5 separate regions of the Homo sapiens genome follow, and all the other regions are linked to region 1. The links are contacts of gene promoters, found by promoter capture Hi-C in blood cells and fetal thymus (Javierre and others, 2016). All regions are on one chromosome and are shown on one strand. Each heading gives the region's core, a stretch centred on a gene start or on the middle of the fragment in contact. The rest is flanking DNA. Distances are from core to core; before and after follow the strand shown.

The links. Contacts are between HindIII fragments. The CHiCAGO score rates a contact against its expected background, and 5 or more counts as called.
Region 2: a fragment that was not itself captured here is called in contact with the fragment with the promoter of OR5B21 in region 1 in 3 of 17 cell types (naive CD8 T cells, total B cells and naive CD4 T cells); the score reaches 5.3 in naive CD8 T cells.
Region 3: a contact is called between a fragment that was not itself captured here and the fragment with the promoter of OR5B21 in region 1, in 3 of 17 cell types (naive CD8 T cells, endothelial precursors and megakaryocytes). The highest score is 8.1, in naive CD8 T cells.
Region 4: a contact is called between a fragment that was not itself captured here and the fragment with the promoter of OR5B21 in region 1, in 2 of 17 cell types (endothelial precursors and megakaryocytes). The highest score is 8.1, in endothelial precursors.
Region 5: a fragment that was not itself captured here is called in contact with the fragment with the promoter of OR5B21 in region 1 in 1 of 17 cell types (endothelial precursors); the score reaches 5.2 in endothelial precursors.

Annotation. Positions count from the first base shown.
Region 1 is chr11:58,506,839-58,509,366 of GRCh38, reverse strand. OR5B21 (olfactory receptor family 5 subfamily B member 21) reads left to right here and starts at 1,262. Exons shown (of 1, transcript NM_001005218.3): 1 at 1,262-2,528. The coding sequence starts at 1,262. The coding sequence ends at 2,191. All of the region lies in intron 2 of LOC105369313 (a long non-coding RNA gene), which reads left to right. The HindIII fragment of the contact is 6,996 bases long and covers 1-2,405 here.
Region 2 is chr11:57,698,744-57,701,271 of GRCh38, reverse strand. ZDHHC5 (zDHHC palmitoyltransferase 5) reads right to left here. Exons shown (of 12, transcript NM_015457.3): 11 at 1,854-2,528; 12 at 90-1,406. The coding sequence ends at 1,241. Among named protein-coding and RNA genes, the nearest start is that of MED19, 12 kb to the left of the region's middle. The HindIII fragment of the contact is 3,103 bases long and covers 1-2,528 here.
Region 3 is chr11:57,715,918-57,718,445 of GRCh38, reverse strand. The region is part of intron 1 of TMX2 (thioredoxin related transmembrane protein 2); the gene reads right to left. The region is part of intron 1 of TMX2-CTNND1 (TMX2-CTNND1 readthrough (NMD candidate)); the gene reads right to left. It also overlaps the pseudogene PPIAP42. Among named protein-coding and RNA genes, the nearest start is that of TMX2, 4.6 kb to the right of the region's middle. RefSeq lists an enhancer at 2,383-2,528. The HindIII fragment of the contact is 5,340 bases long and covers 1-2,528 here.
Region 4 is chr11:57,861,369-57,863,896 of GRCh38, reverse strand. No RefSeq gene overlaps it. Among named protein-coding and RNA genes, the nearest start is that of CTNND1, 100 kb to the right of the region's middle. The HindIII fragment of the contact is 598 bases long and covers 970-1,567 here.
Region 5 is chr11:57,981,281-57,983,808 of GRCh38, reverse strand. No RefSeq gene overlaps it. Among named protein-coding and RNA genes, the nearest start is that of OR9Q1, 41 kb to the left of the region's middle. The HindIII fragment of the contact is 1,482 bases long and covers 530-2,011 here.

The DNA of each region.
Region 1 (2,528 bases), core at 13-2,512:
TGAACACCTCAGGTTGAGGAACAAAAATAGGAGAGAAAGAATGCTCTAAAATGAGGACAGAAACCTGTCTCCAGGCCTGACCATCTGCAAACTCACTGTTACTCCTGAATATTTTTCATATGACAAGTCTAAGCTAATATTTTGGCCCAAAGCACAAACCTGGTAGACAAGAGGATGATAGGATGTTTGTTGTGGGATTAAAGAGCATGAAAAATATTTCCATACTTTCCTATTGATGTTCTGTTTGATTCACCAAATATTTACATACATGTGTGAGGGGCCATGGTAAGGAGAGTGGACCAGAGGGGATGAAGATAGTTACTGTCCCAAGGGGCTTAGAGCTAGGTGAAGAGTGAGTGGTTGCCCAGCTAATTGTGCAATAATCAGCCAAGACTCAAGTGCTTTGAGGAGGGAGAGAAAGGAGGACTTAACTGGAATTAGGGTCTACAGCAAAGACTTCTGATAAGGGGTGAAAAAAGACATATGCATATACACAGATACACAAAGCCATTTGTATATATCAAATTTATAGTTTTATATTAAATATATATAAATACATACTCATATTTACATATACCATACTCCCTTTCAGTTGAACTACTGTTGAGGGATTAATTTATAAAGGCTTCAAAAGTTGTGGTTAAGATCTTTGGATTTAGTATCAAACAGACCTTGAGGGCACCACCTTGTCCTGCCAACACCTTGATTTTGGCCCAGTGAAACTGATTTGAGGCTTCTGGCCTCCAGAATTTTGAGAGAATAAACTTGTGTTGTTTTAAGGAAAAATAAATTTAGAAAATCTTTAGTGAGGCTATATTATTGGAAGTAGAATGTGGAAGACAATAAGTGATGGATGTTTTTATTTTTAATAATTAAATACATACAATCTTATATCCACATCATAATTTGTATTTATATGATGTAAATGTGTTAAAGAATTCAAGATGAATGTATGAACTTTAGATTCAGAAATATAAAGGGGTGAACTTTGATTCTGACCCCTAGATAGGCTATCTTGCTCAATATTCAGCTCCCTGAGCCTTAACTTCCTTATCTGTAAGATGGGCATAATAGCACCTATCTCATATGAATTAAAAGCTATAATATAACAGAGGGTTCTAGGATGAGTGTTACACACAGTACATTCTCTCTATACATTAGTTTTCTCCTTTTTTATCATTCCATCCTCCCTTCTCATACTTTCATTGGAATTTTGTTGACGCCTCTTCTTTAATCACCAGGCTAATTCAAGCTGGCCACAATGGAGAATAGCACAGAAGTGACAGAGTTTATCCTCTTGGGATTAACAGATGACCCCAATCTTCAGATACCCCTCCTCCTGGCATTTTTATTCATCTACCTCATCACCCTGCTTGGGAATGGGGGAATGATGGTGATCATCCACTCAGACTCCCATCTCCACACTCCAATGTACTTTTTCCTCAGTAACCTCTCCCTTGTAGACTTGGGTTACTCATCAGCTGTAGCCCCCAAAACGGTGGCTGCATTGCGGTCAGGGGACAAGGCCATCTCCTACGATGGATGTGCAGCTCAGTTCTTCTTCTTTGTGGGGTTTGCCACTGTTGAGTGCTACCTCCTGGCCTCCATGGCCTATGATCGCCATGCAGCGGTATGTAGGCCTCTTCATTACACCACCACCATGACAGCAGGTGTGTGTGCCCTCCTTGCTACTGGTTCCTATGTCTCTGGCTTCCTCAATGCCTCTATCCATGCAGCAGGCACCTTCAGACTCTCCTTCTGTGGTTCTAATGAGATTAATCATTTCTTCTGTGACATTCCCCCACTCCTGGCTCTCTCATGCTCTGACACACGCATCAGCAAGTTGGTGGTCTTTGTGGCAGGCTTCAACGTCTTTTTCACCCTCCTGGTCATCCTTATTTCTTACTTCTTCATATGCATCACCATTCAGAGGATGCATTCTGCTGAAGGGCAGAAGAAAGTCTTCTCCACCTGTGCTTCCCATCTCACTGCTTTGTCCATCTTCTATGGCACAATCATCTTCATGTACTTACAGCCCAACTCCAGCCAGTCCGTGGACACAGACAAAATAGCCTCTGTGTTTTACACAGTGGTGATTCCCATGCTGAATCCCTTGATATACAGCCTTAGGAACAAAGAAGTGAAAAGTGCTCTCTGGAAAATACTCAACAAACTTTACCCCCAATATTAAATGTGAATGGGAAGTAGGCAAGCAATTAAGGGATAAACTTTCTCTCACACCTAAATGCCATCATGACTTTTAACGTTTGACTGGTTTCAGTTCTTTCTTCCCCAAGAACAGCGGTTACTTCTGCTATTAGAAGATGTAAAAAGCAGCACGTTGAAAGTCTTACTTAGAAAGATAATCTTATATTTAGTGAACAACAACATGGGACAGTTAAGCTTTTCTTGCTTTAGTTTCTTGACGTGGTTTAAAGCAGAAGATTGAAGCATACAAATGAATGTACCAAATTTTCCTCATCCTGTTTTTAATTGTAAGAATTTTTCATTCACTATTAAACTTGGTG
Region 2 (2,528 bases), core at 20-2,519, 810 kb after region 1:
AGTTTATGAGGTTGTCACTGATAACTTCCCACCAGAGATCGTTCACCCTGTCTCAACCAGACAAAATAACACAAGTCAGGGGGCGCTGGTTAGATCAGGATTTCTTTTTATTCCTCGTTGGTTTAAAATGGCTAATCAGAATAAAAAATAAAAGGGCCTCTTTGTGGAGGCTGGGATCTCCCCTATTTAGAGGTTAGAACCCAGGTATCCCCTCTACCCAGCACCATAGTGAGGTGGGCTGAGGGGTAACCCCCAAGGGACAATCGGAGGGGCCTAGGCCTGCCACTCCTTCTCTCTATCCCCCGTTTTTGGCATGTGATGAAAAATATTGCTTTTTGGATTCTTCTCTCCTGGCCTTGGATTTTAAAATCAAGTTAACTGTGTAAGCTAGGGGAGGCTCCAAGGGGCCAGTAGGAGCACACTCTAATCCCTCTCCCCCAAGGAGGGGATTATCCAATATTGTTTGAGCTAGGCCAAGTTATTTTCCTGATCTCCCACCACCACCAGTGTCTTGAAGTTTTGACCCCTTTCCTAGGGAAACTAAATGCCAATGAGCCTAGAAAACTAATTCTCCTCTCCAAGTCCTTCCCTCTTGTGACCAAAATTCCAGACTCACCTCTCCCCAGGCTTCTTCCTAATCACACTTAGCACCAGCAGAGGATGCTATTTCCGTAGTTAGTAACTGGGACAAATGAGAGGGAACCACAGGAAAAAGACTGACGTCTCCCCTCTTTTCCTGCTGGTCTGAGGAATGGGAAGAGTAAGATCCCCCTCCGTATATGTATCCCTCCCTCATTTTCCCATCCCAGGATAGATATATAATTTCTTTGATATTTATAATATATATATATATATATTATATGTACACACACACCTGGTAACGCAGAAGAGGAAAAAAATAGAATCCGTAACAATAATAAAAAAAATTATTTCTGGTTTAAAAATGATCTGGTTCCCTCCAGGGCGAGCAATTGCACAAATGTCCACTGAGTCTGGTCCAGGGATCAAGGAAGGGAAGGTCTTAAAAGATAAAAGGGGGGGTTGCTACCCCAGTCTCAGGGCCCCAACTCTCCGACTCCCCAAGCCTACTGCATTTTAGAAAACACTCCTCATCCTCTTGGAATCGGTGGTTTAAAAAATGTCCATGCACGGGAGGGGAGCCCCTTGAGGGAAGGAAGGTGGCCACCTGGGGCCCTTTGGTGTAGGCGCAGAGGCGTTGGGGAGGGGAGGTGCCGAAGGCTCACACCGAAATCTCATAGGTGGTACCACCAACCCCTGACACCTTCTTGACTCCTCCCCTCGTGGGGCTACTGAGAGGTGGCTGGCCTGGGCCAGGGGAGGCTGAGCCTAAGCTCTTGGGCTGCCCGTTGGATTTGCTGTAGGTGGTCTTCAGCTGTACTTCATCTCTGGAAAGAAGAGACAAGACGTAGGTGTCAGGAAATGGGACAGAAAACATTGGAAAGGGAGACAGTTTCAAAGGTTCAGAGAAAAAAATGATGTTCTTTTCTATATCCATACTTTCTTACCCAAACATTCCCCTTTATTGCCCTGCTTAAAATAAGCCTGATTCCCAATCTCTCCTATGTACTACTACTCTCTAGTAACAGCTATCACATGTACTTACTCCCAAGCAAATACTTTTAGGAAGATAGCATTATGGAAAAAGTATTAATCTTCAGTCTCTTAACAGGAATTGCCCATGAAGGCAGGTAGAGTCAAAGTGAAAATAAAGAGCTACCAGGATACCCCTGGGTCCACCTACATTAGGATGTACAACAGAAGCCCTGATAGCTTTTGCAGAGCAGTATGCTAATTTGAAATTGGCTAAGGGTCAGGATAGTACTAATACTTACTTGGGTGTCAGTAATGGCTGCAAGGCCACTTCTTCTGTCTCAGAGACACCAGGTTGGGCTTTTTGGCTGCTGTAAGACATCGATCGGCCCAGGTATGGGGCTGTTGGGCCTGGTTCAGGGGACCCTACTCCCCGGCCCCTTAGCCCATCTGGCTTGCCAAAACGGGGGACAGCTGGGCGTCCCAGTGGAGTCTTGCCCAAAGGTGATCTCTTTGAATCATCTGAGGAGGAACTAGTACGAGGGGCATGGCCCGAGCCTGGTGTTGACTGAATGCCTGAGTCCCCCAAGCCTGGTTCTTCCTCACGGCCCGGGAGTGGGGGTGACTGGCGCAGCAACTTCTCTCGTTCCTGGAGAGAGGCCACAATGTGGCGCGACAGATTGTCGTAACGGACTGGTGAGGGCTCTCGGTGTGTTGGGCCAGTTGGCACCAAACGTGGGTGCCTCTCAGCTTCCCGTTGCTGGGCCAGCCTGGCTGACAGGAAGGGAGAGGTATAGCCTAAAGGTGGGTCTGGCTCAGGCCCTGCCTGCACTGACTCAAAATCAGGGCTGTCTGAAGGTGTGAGCAAGCTGTCATAAGATAGGCTTCCATTGCGTGTCTGGTTGGCCAGGCTCTTATAGGAGGTGGAGGTGGTGCCCTCTGAACGAATGGATTGCAACTGGCCCAGCTCAAAGCCT
Region 3 (2,528 bases), core at 15-2,514, 790 kb after region 1:
CAAAGACAACAGAAAACTTTCGTGCTCTGAGCACTGGACAAAAAGGATTTGGTTGTAAGAGTTCCTGCTTTCACAGAATTATTCCAGGGTTTATGTATCAGGTGGTGACTTCACACGCCATAATGGCACTGGTGGCAAGTCCATCTATGGGGAGAAATTTGATGATGAGAACTTCATCCTAAAGCATACAGGTCCTGGCACCTTGTCCATGGCAATTGCTGGACCCAACACAAAAGGTTCCCAGCTTTTCATCTACACTGCCAAGAGTGAGTGGTTGGATGGCAAGCATGTGGTCTTTGGCAAGGTGAAAGAAGGCATGAATATTGCAGAGGCCATGGAGCGCTTTGGGTCCAGGAATGGCAAGACCAGCAAGAAGATCACCATTGCTGACTGTGGATAAGTCTAGTAAGTTTGACTTGTTTTGTCTTCACCACCAGACCATTCCTTCTGTGCTCTCCTCTCAGGAGAGCACCCCTCTACCCCATTTGCTCGCAGTATCCTAGAATCTTTGTGCTCTCACTGCAGTTCCCTTTGGGTTCCGTGTTTTCCTTGTTCCCTTACATGCCTAGCTGGATTGCAGTTAAGTTTATGATTATGAAATAAAAACTAAATAACAACAACAATAAAAAGCTAGGGAAAGAAAATAAAGAATGAAAACAAATTCTGGCCTCTGCCTCTGCCTCTGCCTCTCCCTCTCCCCTCTCCCCTCTCCCCTCTCCCCTCTCCCTCTCGGTCTCCCTCTCCCTCTCTTTCCACGGTCTCCCTCTGATGCCGAGCCGAAGCTGGACTGTACTGCTGCCATCTCGGCTCACTGCAACCTCCCTGCCTGATTCTCCTGCCTCAGCCCACCGAGTGCCTGCGATTGCAGGCAAGCGCCACCACGCCTGACTGGTTTTCGTACTTTTTTGGTGGAGACGGGGTTTCGCTGTGTTGGCCGGGCTGGTCTCCAGCTCCTAACCGCGAGTGATCCGCCAGCCTTGGCCTCCCGAGGTGCCGGGATTGCAGACGGAGTCTGGTTCACTCAGTGCTCAATGGTGCCCAGGCTGGAGTGCAGTGGCGTGATCTCAGCTCGCTACAACCTCCATCTCCCAGCCGCCTGCCTTGGCCTCCCAAAGTGCCGAGATTGCAGCCTCTGCCCGGCCGCCACCCTGTCTGGGAAGTGAGGAGCGTCTCTGCCTGGCCGCCCATCGTCTGGGACGTGAAGAGCCCCTCTGCCTGGCTGCCCAGTCTGGAAAGTGAGGAGCGTCTCTGCCCGGCCGCCATCCCATCTAGGAAGTGAGGAGCGCCTCTTCCCAGCAGCCATCCCATCTGGGAAGTGAGGAGCGTCTCTGCCCGGCCGCCCATCGTCTGAGATGTGGGGAGCGCCTCTGCCCCGCCGCCCCGTCCGGGATGTGAGGAGCGCCTCTGCCCGGCCGCGACCCCGTCTGGGAGGTGAGGAGTGTCTCTGCCCAGCCGCCCCGTCTGAGAAGTGAGGAGACCCTCCGCCCAGCATCCGCCCCATCTGAGAAGTGAGGAGCCCCTCTGCCCGGCACCAACCCCGTCTGGGAAATGAGGAGCGTCTCCGCCCGGCAGCCGCCCCGTCCAGGAGGGAGGTGGGGGGGGTCAGCCCCCCGCCCGGCCAGCCGCCCCGTCCGGGAGGTGAGGGGCGCCTCTGCCCAGCCGCCCCTACTGGGAAGTGAGGAGCCCCTCTGCCTGGCCAGCCACCCCGTCCGGGAGGGAGGTGGGGGAGTCAGCCCCCCACCCGGCCTGCCGCCCCGTCCGGGAGGGAGGTGGGGGGGTCAGCCCCCCGCTCGGCCAGCCGCCCCGTCCGGGAGGGAGGTGGGGGGGTCAGCCCCCCACCCGGCCAGCCGCCCCGTCCGGGAGGGAGGTGGGGTCAGCCCCCCGCCCGGCCAGCCGCCCCGTCCGGGAGGTGAGGGGCGCCTCTGCCCGGCCGCCCCTACTGGGAAGTGAGGAGCCCCTCAGCCCGGCCAGCCGCCCCGTCCGGGAGGGAGGTGGGGGGGTCAGCCCCCCGCCCGGCCAGCCGCCCCGTCCGGGAGGGAGGTGGGGGGGTCAGCCCCTCGCCCGGCCAGCCGCCCCGTCCGGGAGGGAGGTGTGGGGGTCAGCCCCCCGCCCGGCCAGCCGCCCCGTCCGGGAGGGAGGTGGGGGGGTCAGCCCCACATCCGGGAGGGAGGTGGGGGGGGGTCAGCCCCCCGCCCGGCCATCCGCCCCGTCCAGGAGGGAGGTGGGAGGGTCAGCCCCCCGCCCGGCCAGCCGCCCGGTCCGGGAGGTGAGGGGCGCCTCTGCCCGGCCACCCCTACTAGGAAGTGAGGAGCCCCTCTGCCCAGCCACCACCCCGTCTGGGAGGTGTACCCAACAGCTCATTGAGAACGGGCCGGGATGACAATGGCGGTTTTGTGGAATAGAAAGGGGGGAAAGGTGGGGAAAAGATTGAAAAATCGGATGGTTGCCGTGTCTGTGTAGAAAGAAGTAGACACGGGAAACTTTTCATTTTGTTCTGTACTAAGATAAATTCTTCTGCCTTGGGATCC
Region 4 (2,528 bases), core at 19-2,518, 650 kb after region 1:
CACACAGCAATTAAACTTCACCATTTTACCTCTTAGCATGCATGCATGAGCCCACTCACCCAACTCCTGACATCTTATGGGGAAGCTGCTGATCATCAGCTTCAGGTGTTTTTTGGGGGGGTAGGGGTTTAGGTTGTTTTGTTTTGTTTTGTTTTGAGATGGAGTCTCACTCTGTCACCCAGGCTGGAGTGCAGTGGCACAATCTCGACTCACTGCAACCTCCACCTCTTGGATTCAAGCGATTCTCTTGCCTCAGCCTCCTGAGTAGCTGGGATTACAAGTGCACACCACCACACCTAGCTAATTTTTGTATTTTTAGTAGAGAAGGTGTTTCGCCATGTTGGCCAGGCTGGTCTCAGACTCCTGACCTCAAATGATCAACCCACCTCGGCCTCCCAAAATGTTGGGACTATAGGTGTGAACCACGGTGCCGGGCCCACGTGTTTTCTATTGGAAGACTGTCTCTCCCTGGCACTGGCTGCAACCAGTTATTACTTTAGAGAGACAGTTTAACAACCCCCTGACCATCACTTGATGCTTGCCTGACATTCCTGGAGGGGGGACCTGTCTTGCCCTGATCATGTCTGCCTAACTACCTACCTACCTACTACCTACATTCTAAAAATGAACAATTTAAAAATCCCTTCCAGGAAGCTGAGGGTGAAAATTTCTCATTTTTGTCTTCTTTCATTCAGCAAATCTTTACTAAATTCCTCCTATGCTCCACCTACTTTTAACTTATAAACTAAATTTTTAGTACATTCAGTTGAAGTCAGGACTAGAATCTTATGGTAAAGAGATTTAGTAAAAATTAATCTAATTCATTCATCTCGAAAATATTTATGTGGCAATTAGGTGTAACACAATGTGGTAGGCCCTAGCTTGACAGTCAGAACACCTATTAGGCAGATTGCTTATGCCATAGTAACAAACAAACCCCAAATGTCAGTGACTTCATACCACAAAGCTTTCCACCTATGCTAAATTTGAGACACATCAGGTGACTCTCAGGGAAATTTATCCATCCAGTGTCTCCACATCTGAGCCCCTCTCATCTTGCAATCCTGCCATCTCACCCTTTGACCTCCAAGATCTTAATGGTGGGGGAAATGGTCAAGGTCACACAGCATTTTTAAGCACCTGGCCTGAGGTTGGCTCACATCACTTTGACCCGTGTATCATTGGCCTGAAACCAGTCTTACAGCTAATATATGGCAAAGAAGGCTGGGAAATGCAGTCCTTTTTTCACCCAGAGGAGGAAAAAGAAATGAGATTTAGTAAATACATAGCTTTGTGTGTCACTGGCCAACTGGACATTTGATTAGACCATCATCTGTAAGAAGTAGTAAAACATCACTGGAATAAATCAGAAATAAGGTACTGGTTAACTCATGTTTCTACATAATTGAGGTAGACTGTTTCTTTGGGTGGACATTTTAAAACACTCCTTGCCTGGACTGACCTATCTCTGTTCAGCATTTTTTGAATCACATGCCCAAGTTGTATGGTGCCACTACAGGCAGTAAAACTAATGATGAGACCAGTCATTTGATGGCTGCCTGAAGCTTCACGTCACAGTTACCTCCTTGAATTATAAAACTAAATAATGTACAACATAGTGGTATCTACTAAGAGTGATTTTATCTAAGTTTAACCCCATAATCTATCACCCAAGAAGTGGTACACACACAAACACATACTCTCATGAAGAAAGAAGAAACTACAAAACAAAAACGCATTGGAAAGCATGAAAGTCAGATAAAAATACAAAAGTTGAATGTGCATATCATGTGGCTCAACTGTACAATTTTAGCTAGTAGACTATAAGTTGCTATCCACCTCAACTATATAAATATTGAATAAATACTTACAGGCTTTCAATCTGAGAGTGATAAATTATTATCCTGCCCCATCCACTGTTATATCTTCTATGTCTAGAATAATACCTGGCACATGGCAGGCACTCAATAAACATCTGTTCAATAAATGAGTGAATGGGTATCCACATGATTGTTTTCCTTGGACTAGCAGCACTGTCATCACCTGGGAACTTTCAGATGTAGAATCTGGGGCCCCACTCCTGACCTGCTGAATAAGAATCTGCATTTTGGCTGGGCGCAGTGGCTCACGCCTGTTATCCCAGCACTTTGGGAGGCCGTGGTGGGCGGATCACCAGAGGTCAGGAGTTCGAGACCAGCCTGTCCAACATGATGAAAGCCCGTCTCTACTAAAAATACAAAAAAAAAAAAAAATTATCCAGGCATGGTGGCAGGTGCCTGTAATCTCAGCTACTTGGAAGTCTGAGGAAGGAGAATAGCTTGAACCCGGGAGGCGGAGGTTGCAGTGAGCCAAGATCTCACCACTGCACTCCAGTCTGGGCGACAGAGTGAGACTCTGCCTCAAAAAAAAAAAAAAAGAATTTGCATTTTAACATGATCCCCATATAATTCGCATGCACGTGAAAGTTTGAGAAGCACTGAAACATATGACTCAATCTAGCCCTAAATTTGTGAACAAAGTACGCAATT
Region 5 (2,528 bases), core at 21-2,520, 530 kb after region 1:
TGGGAAGAGCAGGTTTGCTGGGAGAAGATCAGGAGTTTGGTTTGGGATCCAACAAAAATTTCCTTTTAGACACATCCAAGCAGAAAGACCAAGTGTGAAATTGGATCCATGAGTCTGAAGTTCAAAGGAGAGAGGACTGAAGATACCATTTTGGAACTCATCAACTTATAGATCATATTTAAAGTAATGAGGCTGCAAGAGAGCGAGCCGGGAGTGAGCGTAGGTAGGGAAAAGAAGCTGTCCAAGAACTATTTCCTGAGCACTTCTACATTAAGAGGCTAGAGAAATTAGGAGCAACCCACAAAAGAGACCGAAGGAGCAGCCAACAGCAAGAAGAAAACCAGGAGAATGAGCTCAGTGAGTGCTAAGCAAAGAAAGTGTCTGGGGAATTCCAAATTGCCAACTGCATCAAATGCTGCCAATTCCTTAAGTAAGAGAAAAACTGAATTCACCATTAAATTTAGTAACACAGAGGCCATTAAAGATGTTAAAAAGAGCTGTTTTTAGTGGAGTCGTGGGAATGAAAGCTTGTTGGAGTGAATTCAAAAAGAAAGGGAGAAAAGAATTAGAAACAATGGGTGTGAACAACTATTTAGAGAAATGTGGCTGTAAAGTGATGCAGAAAAATAAAGCAATAGCTAAAGGAGAAAGTGGGATAAAAAGTAAATTTTTTTCAGCTAGGAGAAATAACCTAATGTTTGTGTGCTATTTGCATGTTTATTTATCTATCCTTAAACGTGTAGTGAGAGACTCTTGGTTCCCAGACCTTCTATTCCAGCAGAGAATGAAAGAATATGATAAGCTCATGACTGCTTCAAAGAAGACACCACGTTCCGCATGACTAGGCCCCAATGGTGCAGCTGTCTCCAAACCCTCACTATTAGTACTGCACCAAGAGGCCAACAGATTACAGATGAGATGGTATATAAGACCATCCCCTCATTACCATACTGCTGTAATTTAACTGTTTTTTTTATTATTATCAAAAGACTTCATTATGCAGTTTAAAGAGTTGAACAGAACCACGAGACTTGTAACAAGAAAAATCTTCCCTGGACCACTCCTCCCTCTGCCCGGGACTCGCACACCAAAGCAATCACTTTCAAATCTGTCGTGTATTTCTCTTGTTTACTGTCATATTTCTAGATCACATGCTTTTAGAATTTTTTTCATTTTGTTTTTCACTTCAAGATTTTAACTTTTTACTTCCTAAAATAGAAAACAGAGATTTAGCTCTTTTAACCTATCTATCATCTCTATATCCCTTTTCTATCATTCTCTCAGTAAAGTTATATCAAGATTTTTTCTTAAGTTACTGTTCAATGTTTGCATTATTGGCTATAAAAATGTAATTCACAGGTTTGTCATTTGGTATGTTATGATCACATATCCTTTCTTGTATGACTTTTTGTTTTTCCTGAATTAATAATTGCCTTAGTTTTTCATTTGCTTACTTTTCTATGTACCCATAATTAACGCTTTCTCAAACTATCCCCAGACTATTCCCAACCAGAACTAAAAACCCATCTCCATGCTAGTATATCAGTTAATCCATTAGTTCAATGTATTTCTCAGAGGCACACGTCCTGGGACCCTGCCCACTCCTGCTCCTCTCTGGACTGGACATTCTCTCAGCTTGATGTGTGGCTCCCTTCCTGAAACTACCCTCAGCATGGGAATTCCTTTCCTGTCTTCTGTCCTCTGTTTGTTGGATCAAAGATCTTCTTCCATGGTTTATTCCCTAATTTTGCCACTTCTTCTGTAGTGTCTTAAGACAGGATGCCCGAGAGGTACACTTTTATGACTTGGCATATCTGAACCATTCTTTATTTCACCATCACATTAATCTAATTGCTTGGCTATGTATAGAATTCAAAAGTTGTGACCACCTTCTCTCAGTTTTTGAGGTTATCATCTCGTTGTCTCTGGTTTCCCGTGCTGTCATTGAGAAGTCCAACATCATTCTGATACTCATCTTTTGTTTGTGATCTCCTTTTACTCTCTGGAAGCTTTACAGGATCTTCTTATTATACCCCGGAATCTGAAATTTCACAATCATGTGCCTTGAAATAATTCTGTTGTCATTTATTTACCCAGGTACCCAGTGAATGCTTGAATTCTGTCCAAATTTTCTGTCCTTCCTTTCTGGAATTCCCATTAGTTTGATGTTAAGATTCTGTGCTATATCTAATTTTCTTATGTTTTTTGTTATTATCTTTTTGTTATTATCTTTTTTGTTATTATCTTTCATCATTTTATTCTGTATCTTGAGGATATTTTCTCAATTTTATTTTGCAAATCTCCTATTGAATTCTTTAAAATTAATTCTTTAAAATGTCTTATTATACTATTAATGTTCCAAAGTATTTTCTGCTTTTTAATGTTTTTTTATAATACTCTTTTTTATTATGGATACAGTTGTTATTCATTCAATCAATATTTGGTGTGTTTGTTGTGGGATTTTTTGTTTTTCAGACAGGGTCTCACTCTGTCACCCCAGCTAGAGTACAGTGGCATGATCACAGGTC